Regions from separate parts of the Homo sapiens genome. Here region 1 is linked to region 2. The links are contacts of gene promoters, found by promoter capture Hi-C in human tissues and cell types (Jung and others, 2019). All regions are on one chromosome and are shown on one strand. The core of a region is centred on a gene start or on the middle of the fragment in contact, and the rest is flanking DNA. Distances in the headings are between cores, read along the strand shown. Region 1 has its middle 37 kb from the start of CTPS1. Region 2 holds the start of RIMS3 (regulating synaptic membrane exocytosis 3).

Evidence for each region. Contacts are between HindIII fragments. The study calls those that stand out against the background at their distance.
Region 1: a contact is called between a fragment that was not itself captured here and the fragment with the promoter of RIMS3 in region 2, in 1 of the 25 tissues and cell types used here (aorta).

The regions. Positions count from the first base shown.
Region 1 is chr1:40,939,341-40,947,002 of GRCh38, forward strand. It overlaps the pseudogene LOC100128362 and the pseudogene UBE2V1P8. Among named protein-coding and RNA genes, the nearest start is that of CTPS1, 37 kb to the right of the region's middle. RefSeq lists an enhancer at 5,491-5,990. The HindIII fragment of the contact is 5,918 bases long and covers 1,760-7,662 here.
Region 2 is chr1:40,659,363-40,666,970 of GRCh38, forward strand. It overlaps RIMS3 (regulating synaptic membrane exocytosis 3), which reads right to left and starts at 6,320. Exons shown (of 8, transcript NM_014747.3): 1 at 6,032-6,320. It overlaps LOC105378675 (a long non-coding RNA gene), which reads left to right. Exons shown (of 2, transcript XR_947238.3): 1 at 1-689; 2 at 6,626-7,608. RefSeq lists an enhancer at 3,931-4,588 and a silencer at 6,036-6,465. The HindIII fragment of the contact is 12,473 bases long and covers 1-7,108 here.

The DNA of each region.
Region 1 (7,662 bases), core at 3,469-5,968, 280 kb after region 2:
CTGCAACCTCCGCCTCCCAGGTTCAAGTGATTCTCCTGCCTCAGCCTCCTGAGTAGCTGGGAAGCTAATTTTTGTATTTTTAATAGAGGCAGGGTTTCACCATGTTGGCCAGGCTGGTCTCCAACTCCTGACCCCAAATGATCCGCCCGCCTCAGCCTCCCAAAGTGCTAGGATTACAGGCGTGACCCATCACGCCCGGCCATCTGGTAATTTTCTAAACAGTTCCATGAGAACATGAAATTGCCCATGCTTATCTCCAGAGACAGTGACTGGACACCAAACCTCTTGTGCATTGGATTCTTCTGTCAGGATTTCTTTAGCCTCCTTGCAGAGGCTCTTGACCTGGGACTTGGATAGCTACTTTCTCTGGTTCAGCTGCTTGATCCACTGGTCCAGCTCCTTGGAGAACACCTCATCCATGATGCCACCTGCCCGAGCTGGCTGCTGCACACGGGCCACATGCATCTGTGGCCACTGACAGTTGCTTGGTGCTGCTGCTGGCCCACAGACTCTCCACAGTGCTCGGCCAACAACTACTGTGTCTCTTCCCTACTCACTCTGGCTCCAGAGCTTGGTTCTCTGAAATCGTGAGTATTTCGAAATACTTGAAACAACAAAGTTCAATTGAGTTCAAAGTCCACTTACATCATTGCAAGCAATTTCATTCATTCATGCCAGAAAAGCAAGTACTGTTAGAGTCTTCCATTAAAATTTCAATTTCATTTTAAAATTTTGCGCAGGAATTTTGTGTAGCTGTTTCAGACAAAAAATCTAAAAATTGATGTGCACAGAAGGAAGCTCAGATCTCTAAATAAAACTTTTGAAAAGATTTTATTTGGAAGTATTTACAAATTCACATTTAATATCTTTGCTAATTGTTTTTCAGGGGTATCCCAGGCCCATGAAATTAGATGATTATAATCCTTGGTTTATGGTACATTCTTTTTTTTTTTTTTTTTTTTTAGACAGAGTATTTTACTGTCACCCAGGCTGGAGTGCAGTGGTGCGATCTCAGCTCACTGCAACCTCCGCCTCCTGGGTTCAAGTGATTCTCCTGCCTCAGCCTCCCGAGTAGCTGGGATTACAGGTGCACGCCACCACGTCCAGCTAATTTTTTTTTGTATTTTTAGTAGTGATGGGGTTTCACTACGTTGGCCAGGCTGTTCTCAAGCTCCTGACCTCAAGTGATCTGCCTGCCTCGGCCTCCCAAAGTGCTGGGATTACAGGCATGGGCCACCACGCCTGGGCAATGGCACATTCATAACAGGTCCAGGGCCAGCATGGTGGCTTATGCCTGTAACCCTAACACTTTAGGAGGCTGAGGCAGGAGGGTGGCTTGAGCCCAGGAGTTCAAGACCAGCCTGGGCAACATAGGGAGACCCTGTCTCTACAAAAAGTAATAACAAATTAGTTGGGTGTGTTGGCATGAGCCTATATTCCTAGCTACGTGTGAGGCTGAGATGGAAGGATTGTTTGAACCCGGAAGTTCGAGGCTGAAGTGAGCTGTGATTGTGCCAATGTGCTCCAGCCTGGGTGACAAAGTAAGACCCTGTCTCTAAAAACACTTTGTCTCTGAAAAAAAAAGAAAAAAGAAAAGAAAAAAAAGAGGCCAGGCCTGGTAGTGGCTCATGCCTATAATTCCAGCACTTTAGGACACCAAGGTAGGAGGATTGCTTGAGGATTTTGAGACCAGCCCAGGCAACACAGTGAGATCCTCACCTCTACAAAAAATAGAAAAAATTAGCTGGGCGTAGTGTCACAGGCCTGTAGTCCTAGATACCTGGGAGGCCGAGGTGGGAGGATAGCTTGAGCCTGAGAGGTTAAGGCTGCAGTGAGCCATGATTGTGCCACTGCTCTCCAGCCTGGGGCACAGAGCAAGACCACTTCTCAAAAACAAACAAATAATAATAATGTAACATCTCACCCCAAACCAAAGCTAGTACCTTGACTTTTTAGGTACAAATAACCATACGTGCATCCCCTGCAGCATGGATCCGGGACATTTTGCTTTTGTGGGCCTCTTCCTAAACACACATATACACGTGCACAAAAATATATATGTATACCAGACGTGTACAAAAATATATATGTATACGTATATTTTATGATTGCATTGGTAATAAAGAATATGTTGTTATATAGTAAAACATTTTCTTTGAACTAAAAAGTTCATTAGTTTCTTCTGATTAAAAAGATAATAATGGCCGGGTGCGGTGGCTCACTTCTGTAATCCCAGCACTTTGGGAGGCTGAGGCTGGTGGATCATGAGCTCAGGAGTTCGAGACCAGCCTGGGCAACATAGCGAGGCCCCCGTCTTTACAAAAAATACAAAAATTAAAAATTGGTCAGGCATGGTGGCGCGTGCCTGTAGTTCCAGCTACTCGGGAGGCTGAGGCACGAGAATCGCTTGAACCAGGAGGCAGAGGTTGCAGTGAGCTAAGATAGCACAACGGCACTCCAGCCTGGGCGACAGAGTGAGACTCTGTCTCAAAAAACAAAACAAAACAAAACAAAAAACACATTTTCATGGACCTCTAAAAGTATTTTGGGCCCTAGGCATGGTGCCTATGGTGCTTCATGGATGAGTCAGCCTTCCTTCCCTGGCACCAGGTCCCCATCAGCCTGGGTCCTGTCTGCTCACCATTCTCGTTTTCCTTGTTATAATTTCTTGCAATAATATGTATTCCTTAAGAGTACATTTTTGGTTATAGCACAACTTATATGTTTCAAATGGACCAAAATTAGTATCATTTACAGTATCTTAAGATAAATTTCCTTTGAGTGAGCTTCTTTTCCTGTACTTTGAGGTCTACGAGATGTATCTAGAAAATTTACTACTGTGGAAAATGAAGTCGTTTAAAGCAAACTCCAGGGGGAAGGAAAAGGGCCTGTGGTTTTCCTTTTGGATAATTGCTGTAATGCTGTCCTTCAGGCAGCTGAGGGAGTTTCATGTTTTCACTAGACATCTTTAGGCGCTGAAGCTCTTGCAGGACAACTTTGATGTTATATGGATTCTGCCATTTTGCTAGCACTAATAAGGTTCTTGGTCCACCACTCCATTAGAACTACTAACTCCATTCTTATTAATTTTTGTTACAAATCTTACAAACGGAGGTGCTGTGGAGTATTTAGGTCCATATTCTATTTTTGTAGCTGCATATTCTGTTTTCATAAATTGGCTACCATCTTGTGTTGCTGTTGCTCAAAGGCTCAAAAGAGTACTTTTAATGTTAGTCATTTTTAACTTCGCGAAATAATATAATCTTTTTTTTTTCCCTGATACGGAGTCTTGCTCTGTCACCCAGGCTGGAGTGCAGTGGCACAGTCTCGGCTCACTGCAACCTCTGCCTCCCGGGTGCAAGCGATTCTCCTGCCTCAGCCTCCCGAGTAGCTGGGATTACAGGTGCACACCACCACGCCCAGCTAATTTTTTGTATTTTTAGTAGAGACTACGGGGTTTCACTATGTTGTCCAGGCTGATCTCGAGCTCCTGACCTTGTGATCCGCCCACCTCAGCCTCCCAAAGTGCTGGGATTACAGGCGTGAGCCACTGTGCCCAGCCTATAATCTTTTGAGATCTACTTTTCTCACTTACTATTAGATTGGCAAGATTAATTCATATCTGAGGCATGTCCCTGCAGTTCATTCATCTTGATTGCTGTCTATTGTGTACCATACATGAGCATACCAAGGTCTATTCATCACTGTCCTATCCCATTTAGCATAGGGTGTGTTTTCATCCTTTCCTACAGGAAAAAAACAACCCCAGTACTTCAATGGCTTGTTGTAGCAAACATTTATTTCTAGTTCTCATTCTGTGAGGCCAAGAGTCAGCTGCAGCTCTCCTAGGAAAGGGTCTTTTTCCAACGAAGAGGCCTAGCAAGGTGAAGAGGGAATTAATAATTATGAGCAAATGCAACTGATCCCAGATGGTTTCCAGTTTTACTGAATGGACAGTGCAGCTAGGGTAAAACTGCTGGGTTATAAGCTATAAGAATGTTTGGTTTTAGAAGATTATGCCAGACCTTTCCATAATGGTGTCACCAATTTAAATTTCCACCAGCAATATGCAAGAGATCCTGGAGCTCTACATCCTTCCAACACTCCATATTATGAAACTTTAAACTGTTGAAAATTGAAGGGATGTAAAATGGTATTTCACCGAGCCTTGGTTTGTGTTTTCCTGATCACTAACAACGTTCGACATCTCTTTAAACTTACTGGCTATATGTGTTTCTTCTTCTCTTAAATGCCTGCTTGGCCAGCCATGGTGGCTCACGCCTGTAATCCCAGCACTTTGGGAGGCTGAGGGGGGTGGATCACCTGAGGTCGTGAGCTCGAGATCAGCCTGACCAACATGAAGAAACCCCGTCTCTACTAAAAATACAAAAACTTAGCCGGGCGTGGTGGCGCGTGCCTGTAATCCCAGCTACTCGGGAGGCTGAGGCAGGAGAATCACTTGAACCCGGGAGGTGGAGGTTGTGGTGAGCCGAGATTGTGCCATTGCACTCCAGCCTGGGCAACAAGAGCAAAACTCCATCTCAAAACAAACAAACAAACAAACAAAAAACTCCTGCTCATACCTTTTGTGTCCATTTTTCTTTCTTACTGAATTGTAGAAGTTTTTTGTTTTTTTTTTTTAAGGGGCTTGCTCTATCCCCTAGACTAGAGTGCAGTGGTATGATCATGGCTCACTGTAGCCTCGACCTCCCTGGGCTCAGGAGATCCTCCCACCTCAGCCTCCTGAGTAGCTGGGACCACAGGCAGTCCACCTATATTTTCTACTAATAGTTTTAAAGTTTTATTTTTTTAAATTTAAGTCCTTAAAACATCTAGTGCGGATCTTTGTTTATGTTGTGAAGTAATTTTTCCAGCTCTGTTTATTGGCCCATCCTCCCTTTCTTCGCTGTGATATGCCACTCCTGCCGCATATATATACCATATATATGTGGATCTGATTCTGGTCTCTCTACTCCTTCTCAGGGGTCAATGTGTCTGTCCCTATGTGGATACCGTACTGTCTTAATGGCTGTAGCTTCATCGTGGGTCCTGATTCCTGGCAGGGGTGATGAACCCTGCCCCACTCCACCCCCGCTACTCTGCCCAGTAACAGGGAGAAGCACCCTCTGCTGGCTCTGCTCCTTCCAAATAAGTGGCCTCAGGCATACTGTCTATTTCCCTTTTGAATCTTGGTATTCTTGTGCGTAAACCAGGGAGTAATGATTCTACCTCATAAGAATGTTCTGAGCATCCAATAAGACTGTACATAAATAAAGCTTCTGGCACAGCGCCTATTTGTTGGGCCTGAATGTTTGTGAAATGGGGTCCAGAGACGTTCAATGACGTGCTCAAGGTCACAGGACCAGACCCATAATATGCTGTCTTCTCACTGCTGAGCTTCAAAGACCATTTCCAGACAAGTTAGCCTTCTCAAGAGTCTTTCTTCCATTTTCTTCCCTTCCAGGAAAAAACAAAGGTAAGAAAGAAAGAAAGAAAGAAAGAAAGAAAGAAAGAAAGAAAGAAAGAAAGAAAGGAAGGAAGGAAGAAAGCAAGCAAAGCAAAGCAAAGCAAAGCAAAGCAAAGCAAAGCAAAGCAAAGCAAAGCAAAGAAAGAAAAGAATCCATTTCCAAAAGCTCACAGCATACCACAGTTCCCAATGACTGCATCTTTTTTGGCTTTTTCTTATCTAATGGGAACGGAATGAACTGGATCAGGGTTTCTCTAACAATGTTGGAGAGGAAGTCAGGTTTATTTAAAATTTAACTTCTTTTGGCTCTGTTACCACTGGCCTTGGCTGAGCCATGGCTCGAGGGCATCCGAAAGCAATGAGATCCGGGCATGGTTTCCAGGAGAGTCCCTGGGAGCAAGTTCAGTGTCCCTGAACTTGTCATCATGAAAATTGCAGTGGCCTTGAGGGTTAATCACTGAAGTTAGCATGTAAAGCTGGGTCTGCATCTGTGTTGTTCCCTCTGTCTCTCCTGATCCCACACAGCCAAGACACAGAGCAGGTGCGCAGTGTGGAATAAACAAAGGAAAGTGGGCGGAAAGATTTACAGTCACCTTGAGGAGACTGTTTGGCCTCATTGTAGAGACATTAACAGAGCCAAAGAAAGGGTGTGCAGCTTCTCAGGAGATTTGTTGCTATTATAGTGAGAAAGGTTTGGAAAAGATTATGAGCATGTTCAAAGTTACGATAATTAAAGCGTGTTAGCTCAGAAACTGAAGACAAAGAAGTAAAGTGGAATTGAATTCACAAATAGACCTAAACACATAAGAAAATCTGGTGTATGATAAGGGTGGCATTTCACATATGTAAGGGGAAACTACATGTTGATGAGCCATCTGGAAAAAAACCAAACTGAATCTCTAACTTACTGCATGCACTGAAATAAATTCCAGATGGATTAAGTATGCATTGGTAAAAAACAAAACCATAAACATGCTAGAAGAAAATATCAGAGAATGTTTTCCTAATCATGGAGTGGAGAAAATCTTTCTAAAATATGACACAAATCCCAGAAGTTATCAAGGAAAAGATGGACAGATCTTACTACATAAATATTTTTAAACTTCTGTAGGGGGAAAAAACATATGCAAGGCAAATGACAAACACTAAATTATAAAAAATACTGATTTGCTTTCCACATGGCAGATGAGAGCTAATAACCTGATATGCAAAGACCTCCTACAAATCAACTTAAAAAAAAAAAGTACAGGCTGGGTGCAGTTGCTGACGCTTGTAATCCCAGCACTTTGGGAGGCCAAGGTGGGCAGATCACAAGGTCAGGAGTTTGAGACCAGCCTGGCCAACATGGTGAAACCCCATCTCTACTGAAGTTACAAAAAATGAGCCCAGTGTAGTGGCACACACCTGTGACCCCAGCTACTTGGATGGGTGAGGCAGGAGAATCACTTGAACCTGGGAGGTGGAGGTTGCAGTGAGCCGAGATCACGCCATTGTACTATAGCCTGGGCAACAGGGTGAGACTCTGCCTCAAAAAAAAGAAAATTAATTAATTATTTTAAAATATTTAAAAAGTACAAAGGAAGGAAGAAAACCATGAGTAAGAAAAATATAATCAGGCGTGGTGGCTCACACCTGTAATCCCAACACTTACAGAGGCCTAGGCGGGTGGTTCAGTTGAGGTCAGTAGTTTAAGACCAGCCTAGGTAACATGGTAAAACCCTGTCTCTACCAAAAATACAAAAATTAGCCAGGCATGGTGGTGGGTGCCTGTAGTCCCAGCTACTTGGGAGGCTGAGGCAGGGGAATCACTTGACCCTGGGAGGAGGAAGTTGCAGTAAGCCAAGATCACACCACTGCACTCCAGCCTGGACAACAGAGTGAGACTCTGTCTCAAAAAAAGAAAAGAAAAGAAAAATAGACAAACGACATGGGAAAATACACTTTATAGAAGATGACATTCAAATGGCCAATCAACTCAGGAAGAGATGTTTGACTCCACAGAAATCCAAATGAAAACAACAATGGGATAATATATTTCATGTATCAGACTGCAAAAATTAAAAGGCACCCAGTGTTGGGGAGCGTGTCAGTTGGTATCTCATCACTCCTGGGGCAAATGCAAATTGCAATATTATTTTTGGAAAGAAATTCATCTATTTCATCAGAACTTTATATTTATGTGCCCTTTGATCAAA
Region 2 (7,608 bases), core at 5,070-7,569:
AGGGAGCTATTGAAGTATTTTAAGTAGCAGGGGGTGACGGGGTCAGTTCTGTGTTTTAGAAAGATTGTTCTGGGGCTGCTTGGAGAAAGGGCTGGAAAAGGCAGGCCTGGAGGCAAGGACCAGTTAGGAGGCTGCAGCACTCCTCATCTAGTCCCTTCATTCATCTAACAGCTCACTGTGTACCTACTATGTGCCGGGGTGAGGCAAAACGGATTCCTGAGCCCACAGAGTTCACAGCCTAGCATGAAATAGACATGAGGGAAAAGCGATTTGAGTGTGCTGAATGTTATGAAGAAGTACAAGGTCCTCTGGAGCAGGGTGCTGTTTACTGTCTGGTTTTTAGGCTTCCCTGCGGAAATGACGTTCGAGCTGGTATCTATCTGAAGGATAAGTAGGAGTTAGCAGGGCCCCAAGAGGGGGCGTGCATTCCAGGATTGGGGACAACACGTGTGGAAGTCCTGCAGCTGAGGGAGAGTGGCAGAAGAAGACACAAAAAGGTAGGCAAGGACCAGATCCCACAGGGCCTCGGAGACTGCGTCAGTGCATCTGGCTTTCATTCCAAGAAGGCTTGGAAGGGTCCTAAGCAGGGAAATGACACAATCCAACGTTTATCCTAAGAAGACCATGAAAGAAAGCGGGGCAAGAACAAATGTCAGGAGACCAGGTAGGAAGCTGTCACAGTGGCCCAGGTGAGAGCCAATGGTGGCCTGGAGGGGGTGGTGGGCAGCGAGAGGGTCCACGGACTCAAGGCAGAGATTCAGGAGGACTAACAGGGCTTGCTGAGGACTGGTTATAGGGGTGTGGGACGGGAAGAGGGGCGTATCCAGGAGAACTTTCAGCTTTCTAGCTTGACCAGGTGGGAGGACGGCGATGCCAGAGATGAACCGGGGACCTTAAAGGCAGAGCAGGTGCAGGTGGGAGAGTCAGGAGCTGGGTCTGGACCTGAACTGAAGCTGATTGTGAGACATCTAAGTGTGGGCCAGGAAGCAGTCACACCTGCAGATTGTTGGGGCTTCTTTTTTTTTTTTTTTTTGAGACAGGGTCTCGCTTTGTCACCCAAGCTGGAGTGCAGTGGCATGAACATGGCTCACTATAGCTTCAACTTCTCAGGCTCAAGCGATCCTCCCACCTCAGCCCCCCAAGCAGCTGGGAATACAGGCAAGCGCCACCATGCCCAGCTAATTTTTGTATTTTTTTTGTAGAGATGGGGTTTCGCCATGTTGCCCAGGCTGGTCTTGAACTCCTGGGCTCAAGTGATCCGCCTGCCCCAGCCTCTCAAAATGCTGGGATTACCAGCACTTTGAGGAGGTGTGAGCCACCGCACCCAGCCAGACCTGCAGATCTTCAACCCAGAAGAGATCATTAAAATCAAGAGAAGTAAACGAGATTACCCGGGAGGTAGGGAGGGAGGGGGCAAAAAGGTGGGAAGAGGGGTTGGGGCAACTTGAGGAGCCATGGTAGCAGCAGGACCTAGGGGCAGAGTGACAAGGGGCTCTGAGCTTGGCAAATCAGGACCATGAAATGCAAAGGTTACCTTCTCTCAACCCCAGAAGGCACCAGGATTTGGCTCCCCATCTCCTGGCCAAGCATCATGCCCTTAGCCTGGACACTTCCCAGGTGAGAGAGTCCTCCCTTCTCCACTGCACTTCTTCCTCTTGGGCAAACTCCAAGTTATCCTCCAAACCCAGGGCAGGTGGTCGCTCCTCCTAGGTGGAGACTTCCCTGGTGTAAGCATTGCTCTGCAGTTGGACAACCTGGTTTTGAATCCCAGCTCTGCCACTTGATAGCTGTGCGACTTTGGCTAGGTCACCTCAGTTTCCTCATCTATACCACAGAGATGATAATAGTACCTACCTCATAGGACTGTTTAAAGATGAGCATGTAAAGCGATGGGCAGAGAACTAGCACACAGTAAGCACTAAATAAGTGTTATTCTTATTAACATCCCACCCACCTTGGGACAGTTAGTAATGCCCTCCACCTCATCCTTGGGAACCATTTGCAGATCCATGTCTCTCCCTGCCTCTTCCTACCCCTACCCGATTTGTGGGGCTATATAATATGCAGAGCCCAGTGCTAAATGAAAATGCAGGACCCCTTGTTCAAAGTTACTAAAAATTTTAAGACGGTGTCAGCAGAACATTAAGTGTGGGGTCCTTCTAGGCGCAGGGCCCTGCGTGACCACTGACTCTTGAAACCAGCCCTGCTCCCACCCCCAGCCAGCCCTGGGCCCGGCCCAGAGTTGATGTCAGCCCCCACACAACAGAGTAAAAATGCCAACTGACATCCAGATAGGGTTTATGGTTTCCATGTGGAATTTCACTTTATCGTTTTCCTAGAGATATCATCAACTCCATTTTATAGTTGAGGACACAGAAGTTCAGAGACGGGTATGCCTTCCCAGAGATTACCCAGCTCAGGAACTGCAGAGCTGGGATGTGGGCACAGAGCAGCCTGGTGCAAAACCCTGCCTCTTGCCCTCTGGCTCCCCAGGGAGGTTGGGAGAACCTGGCCCCAAGGGCTGAGCTTTGTCAACAAGGCCACGATACAGCTTAGACCAGAGAGAAGGAGCTGGAGGGACTGGGACTGGCTGTCCTCCCTCCTGGGGCCAGCCACATAAACAACCGGTTCCCTGGGACCGAGGCTGCTGCACAGGGAAAAGGGTAGGAGAGGGCAAAAAGTCACTCCCAAGAAGGCTCTGCCTGAGGGCCATAGACCCTAACATTCTGGGGAAATCTGATCTTGCCTTTTCTGCTTAAAACCCTTTAGGGGTTGCCATTGGCCTGAGGATAAATTCCCAAGTCTTTAGTATCCTGCTAGACTAGGAAATCGGGCCAGGCTGTCCTGGGCCTGCCCACACTGCCCTCCCTCTACCACGCCAAGCCTGTTCTCACCATCAACAGGGCCTCAGACACACAGTTCCCCTTCCTCATCCCTTCTTCGCCTCTACAATTCCTTGGCACCCTTCATGACTCAGCTAAGATGTCGCCACCTCCAGGAACCTTTCCCAGATTACAGACTGCAGGAGAGCAACTTCAGTGATAGGTTCCAGAGCCCAAGTCCCTCCTTTCTACACACATGCCATGTGTAATTACCTGCTCTGGGTCATGTCCCCACTAGAATGTCACCTCCGTGAGGGCAGGGGCCGCCTGGCTCATAGAGTCTGATACATCAGAGGTACCTGGTGGACTGAATGCATCCTTCTGCCACAGAGGCAAGAGGGCCAGGCATTCTTTCTCCTTTTTTCTTCACTCCTCCCGGACCCTCCTTTTCTTGTCCAGGCTTCTTGAGCTCAAGCTATGAAAAGCCCAAACTTGCAAAGGGAAGAGAACCATCATACAGTATGCACCCTCCCCCTGCCAGCTCTAGACTAGGTACTATACATCTGGTTACTACAGTTAATTCCCTAACCACATTCCAGATGGGGTGGAGAAGTATGGGTATAAATTATTCCTATTTTCCAGAGGAGACTGAGACTTGGTAGTTGAGGCCACCTGCCTGAAGTGGTAACAGGTTGGAAGCGGAAGGCATTAGATTTGAATCCTGTCTGTCTGATGCCCAAGTGCCTGGTCTCTTCTCTGCCCCAAACCACACAACCCCTGTGACTCACCATTCCCAGCAAGCTCACCTCCAACCAGAGAGCACTTGTTTCTAACCTCCGCCTTCAGTTCACACACACCCCAGCTGGTAAAGCTCTTCTGTGAGGTCAGTGATATACCAGTGTAGGAGACAGCCCCACTGTCAGTGAGGACAGTGTAGAAGTCACTCCTCCCCTGGGTCAACAAAATGCCAGTGTGGGAGAAACACCCCCATCGTCAGCAAAATGCCAGTACAGGAGACGCACCCTGCACCCCAAGTCAGCAGATTGCTAACAGGAGAGACAGTGCCACAGTCAGCAAAAGGCCAATGTGAGAGACACTTCCCTCCTCTTCTGGGGCCCATGACATTGACTGGGGGGTACACACAGAGACCTCTCCAAGGTGGTGCCCCTGGAGTGGGAGGAGGCACTGAGGCAGCTGTTGCCTGGGGGAGAAGGTTGTGGCTGGGGAGTGGGGCAGGTGAGAGTTCTCACATGGCACTAATGAAATCAACCACCAGCCTGCTCCCCCCTCCCCAGGGACCCTCCAGGCTCCAGCTGATGCAATGCCCAGGCCAGATAATTGTTTTCTTCCCTCCTTAAAGGGCCAGCTGCTACTGCAGCTGCAGACATCACCCAGACCCCTGACAGACCCCACAGAGCTCAGCACCTGGGCAGGAAGTTGGGAAGCCCAGAGAGTAGCAGCTTTAGGCCTGGGTTCTGCGCAGTAAAATCCAATTAAAGTCCAGAGACCAGAAGCGTCGTTGAGCAAGGAGGGAGGGAGAGAGAATAGTTAAGACAGTGACACAGACCACATGCCCTGGGAGAAGGGACCGTGGTCCCTGCTGGGTCCTCAGCACCTGGCTCCTGCACGCCCGCCCAGCAAGTACTTGGCACAGGGGTTGCTCATGAGTTCAGCAGTTAGCTGCTGAGCCCTCCTGAGTGCCAGGCACTGTGCTGCGCAGCTCAAATCCACCATTTCACTCACTCCTTCCTGCTACCCACATAGCAGCTGGGTTTGTTTTACTGAAAGAGTCTCAGAGAGGGGAAGTGATTTCCTCAATATCACACAGCCAGAAAGTGGCAGAGCTTGGGTTTGAAGCCAAGTTTAACCAACTCTGGGCTTCATACCCTGCAAAGGGTCGGATAAGTGTAGAACCCCAGGGCTGGAAGTCCCTAAGCAAGGCAGTCAGGAACAGAAGGCAGGGAAGGGGTCTGTGGGCCCTAAACAAACAACAAAGGGCATGGTGCTTGGTTTAAGCACAGGGCACATGGGTCACCTCCCCAGCACATCCCTGCCAACCCACCCACCCCGCCTCCCAACCAAGAATGCCCCATTAGGCTACCCACATGCCCCCAGGGACAGTTGGCAGCTGCCTGATTACAGACTAATTGGTGGCTGGCAGCAACTATGGTGGGGTGGGGGAGATGGCTCATTAACCCCTTGTTGACCAGGCCCAATCCTCCTCCCATGACTTCAGGCCCCAAACCCAAGGAACCCAGACTTAAGAAGTCATCATGGATAGAGGACAGGACCAAAGGAGCAGCAGCCTTCTTCCCTACATCCTGATAACACCCCTGGGGCTAGGGTTGGACACATATTCACCCAGGTGTCCAAGCCCTGAAGGACCACATTGAAACAGGCCCCAAGTGGCAGTGCCAGCCAATGCCCCCTGTTCTCCAGCCTTGATATGCCATTGCCCACCCCATTCCAGGATCCTTCCTGAGCCTTCAGGACCAGGACACTGAAGAAACCCACTCCTCAGGGCTGAGTTGTCCAGAGGTGATGGGGACATGGAGTCCAGGTACCCAGGCGGCCAGTCAGGGAAGAGCTCCTCCCTATGAATGAGAGCATGCCCAAGTTGCCCATCAAGGGTCCTGCCAAGCCTCCCTGAACCCTGGGCTCTGCACCATGCTGCTGACCAACTGCATTCCCAGCTTCCCAAAGCCCCCTCTTCCCACCCCAGGGCTGGAGTAAGCAGCACTCCTTTTCTTTTATGGGGTGGAGGGGGTCCTCTGGACACCACAACGGTGTCACGTTGAGGAAAAAGTGGCTGCTTCTCAACCAGGGCACAGGCAGAAGGGAGAAAAGCAGGCTGCCTTCCAGCTCCCTTTCCAGGAGGGATTTTAAGCACTTTCCAAAAATGCCATGCCAGGCAATGCTGTTGAAGACCAGGGCCCCAGGAGCTCTGAGCATCAGCAAAGAACTCAAGACTCTGGGCCCCCTTCCCCATTTTCCAGGCTTCCCCAAACACCCCACGTCCCTCTCTCATCCCTTAGTCCCCTCCCCAGAGCCCTCTCACACCCTGTGTTCATCCCCCCACCCCCGCCCCTGCACACTCACATACCTACGTTGCGCTTCATGGCCAGAGCCCCCCTCCCCCCGTGGTCCTCCAGACCTCTGCAGCCCCCTCCCCACGTCCACTCCCAGGCGAGCAAGGCCTGCTGACTTACCCGGAGGTGGGGCCGGGGTCCAGACAGGGAGGGGGCCTCCACAGGCCGAGGCGGCTCCGCAAGGCGGGGCAGGTGCTGCCCCGGGACCCCGCCCCGCGAACCCGGCAGTAGGCGCGGCCCGGCCCCAGGCTGGCGCGGACTCCGAGTGGATAGGCACGCGGGGCGGGGAGGGGCGGCGAGGGAGGCTCACGGGGGCATCGCCCGCCACCACGGGGGCAGCTCCGCTCCGCCCGCCTGCGCTGCCGGCTCCGCAGCAGCCACCGTTTTCAGTCGCCGCCGGGTGCAAAGCCCAAGCTTGGGCCGGCGGGAGGCGAAGGGGAGGCGGGGCCTGCCGGGGGCGGGGCCGCGTGGATGGGCGGGGCCAGTGGGCCGGACCTTGGTGGTGGGCGGGGCCTAGGGGAATCCGGGGAGTTTGGCTTGCCGGGTTGTGGTTGGGGGACCTACATTAATGAGGCTTCCAAGAAGCGGGGTCTGGGGAAGCCTCATTCCTCTCCGTGTCCCTAGGACTCTCTTGCCTCCTGCCCGGCCTCCCCTCTCCACCACCTACCCTATCTGTTCTTTCTCATCCTTCCTTTTCTTTGGGGCACCTCCCAGGACCTCACAGGCACCACGGCGCCCCCTGCCCTGCCCTGCCCTGAAGCAGTTCCAGGAACGTCAGATGGTAAGAGAAGAAACGACTTACAAACGTCAAGTCCATTTTACAGATGGAAAATCTGAAGCTCAGATAGGAGAAAAGACTTGCCCAAGTGCCTGGTATGAAGAGAAAGACTTTATAATGTCCCTTTCAGACAGAAGGAAGTAGAGTGGCCGGCCCTGAAGCCCAAGTTAACCTGCTTCCCCTGCGCTCTCTACTTCTAGAGCAATGGTTTTAAACTTGGGGCGATTTTGCCCCCCAGGGAACATTCGACCATGTCTGGAGACATTTTTGGTTTTCCCAACGAGGAGGTTGCTACTGGCGTCTCATGAGAAGAGACCAGGGATGCTGCTACACGCCTTCAATGCACAGGACAGCCCCTGCGCCAGAGAATTGTCAGGCCCGAAATGTCAGCAGGTTTCTGAGGTTGAGAAACTCTGTTCTAGGGCCTGGCATCTGCCTATATAAACTTCCAAATAGACTCCTGGAGTCCTGGGTTCTTCTGCAGCCCGGGAGGATACTGTATGAAGTCTTTCCTAGGGTCGTGCCTGCCCCAACTTGTATATTTAACCTTGCTTAGGACTGGTCAGTTCCACTCTTGGGCTCCAGTGTTTTGAATTCCACCCACTGACAGAGAGGACAGAATAATTAATATTTGCTGGAGGCATGTAAAACCAGTAGTCTCCCTGCTGAGGGCATGAATTAAAATGTAAATGGGAGCTGGGTGCGGTGGCTCATGCCTGTACCAGTGTTTTGGGAGGCCAAGGTGGGTGGATTGCTTGAGGCTGGGAGTTCGAGATCAACCTGGCCAACATGGTGAAACCCCATCTCTACTAAAAATACAAAAATTAGCCAGGTGTGGTGGCACACAACTATAGTCCCAGCTACTCGGGAGGCTGAGGTACGAGAATCACTTGAACCCAGGAGGCGGAGGTTGCAGTGA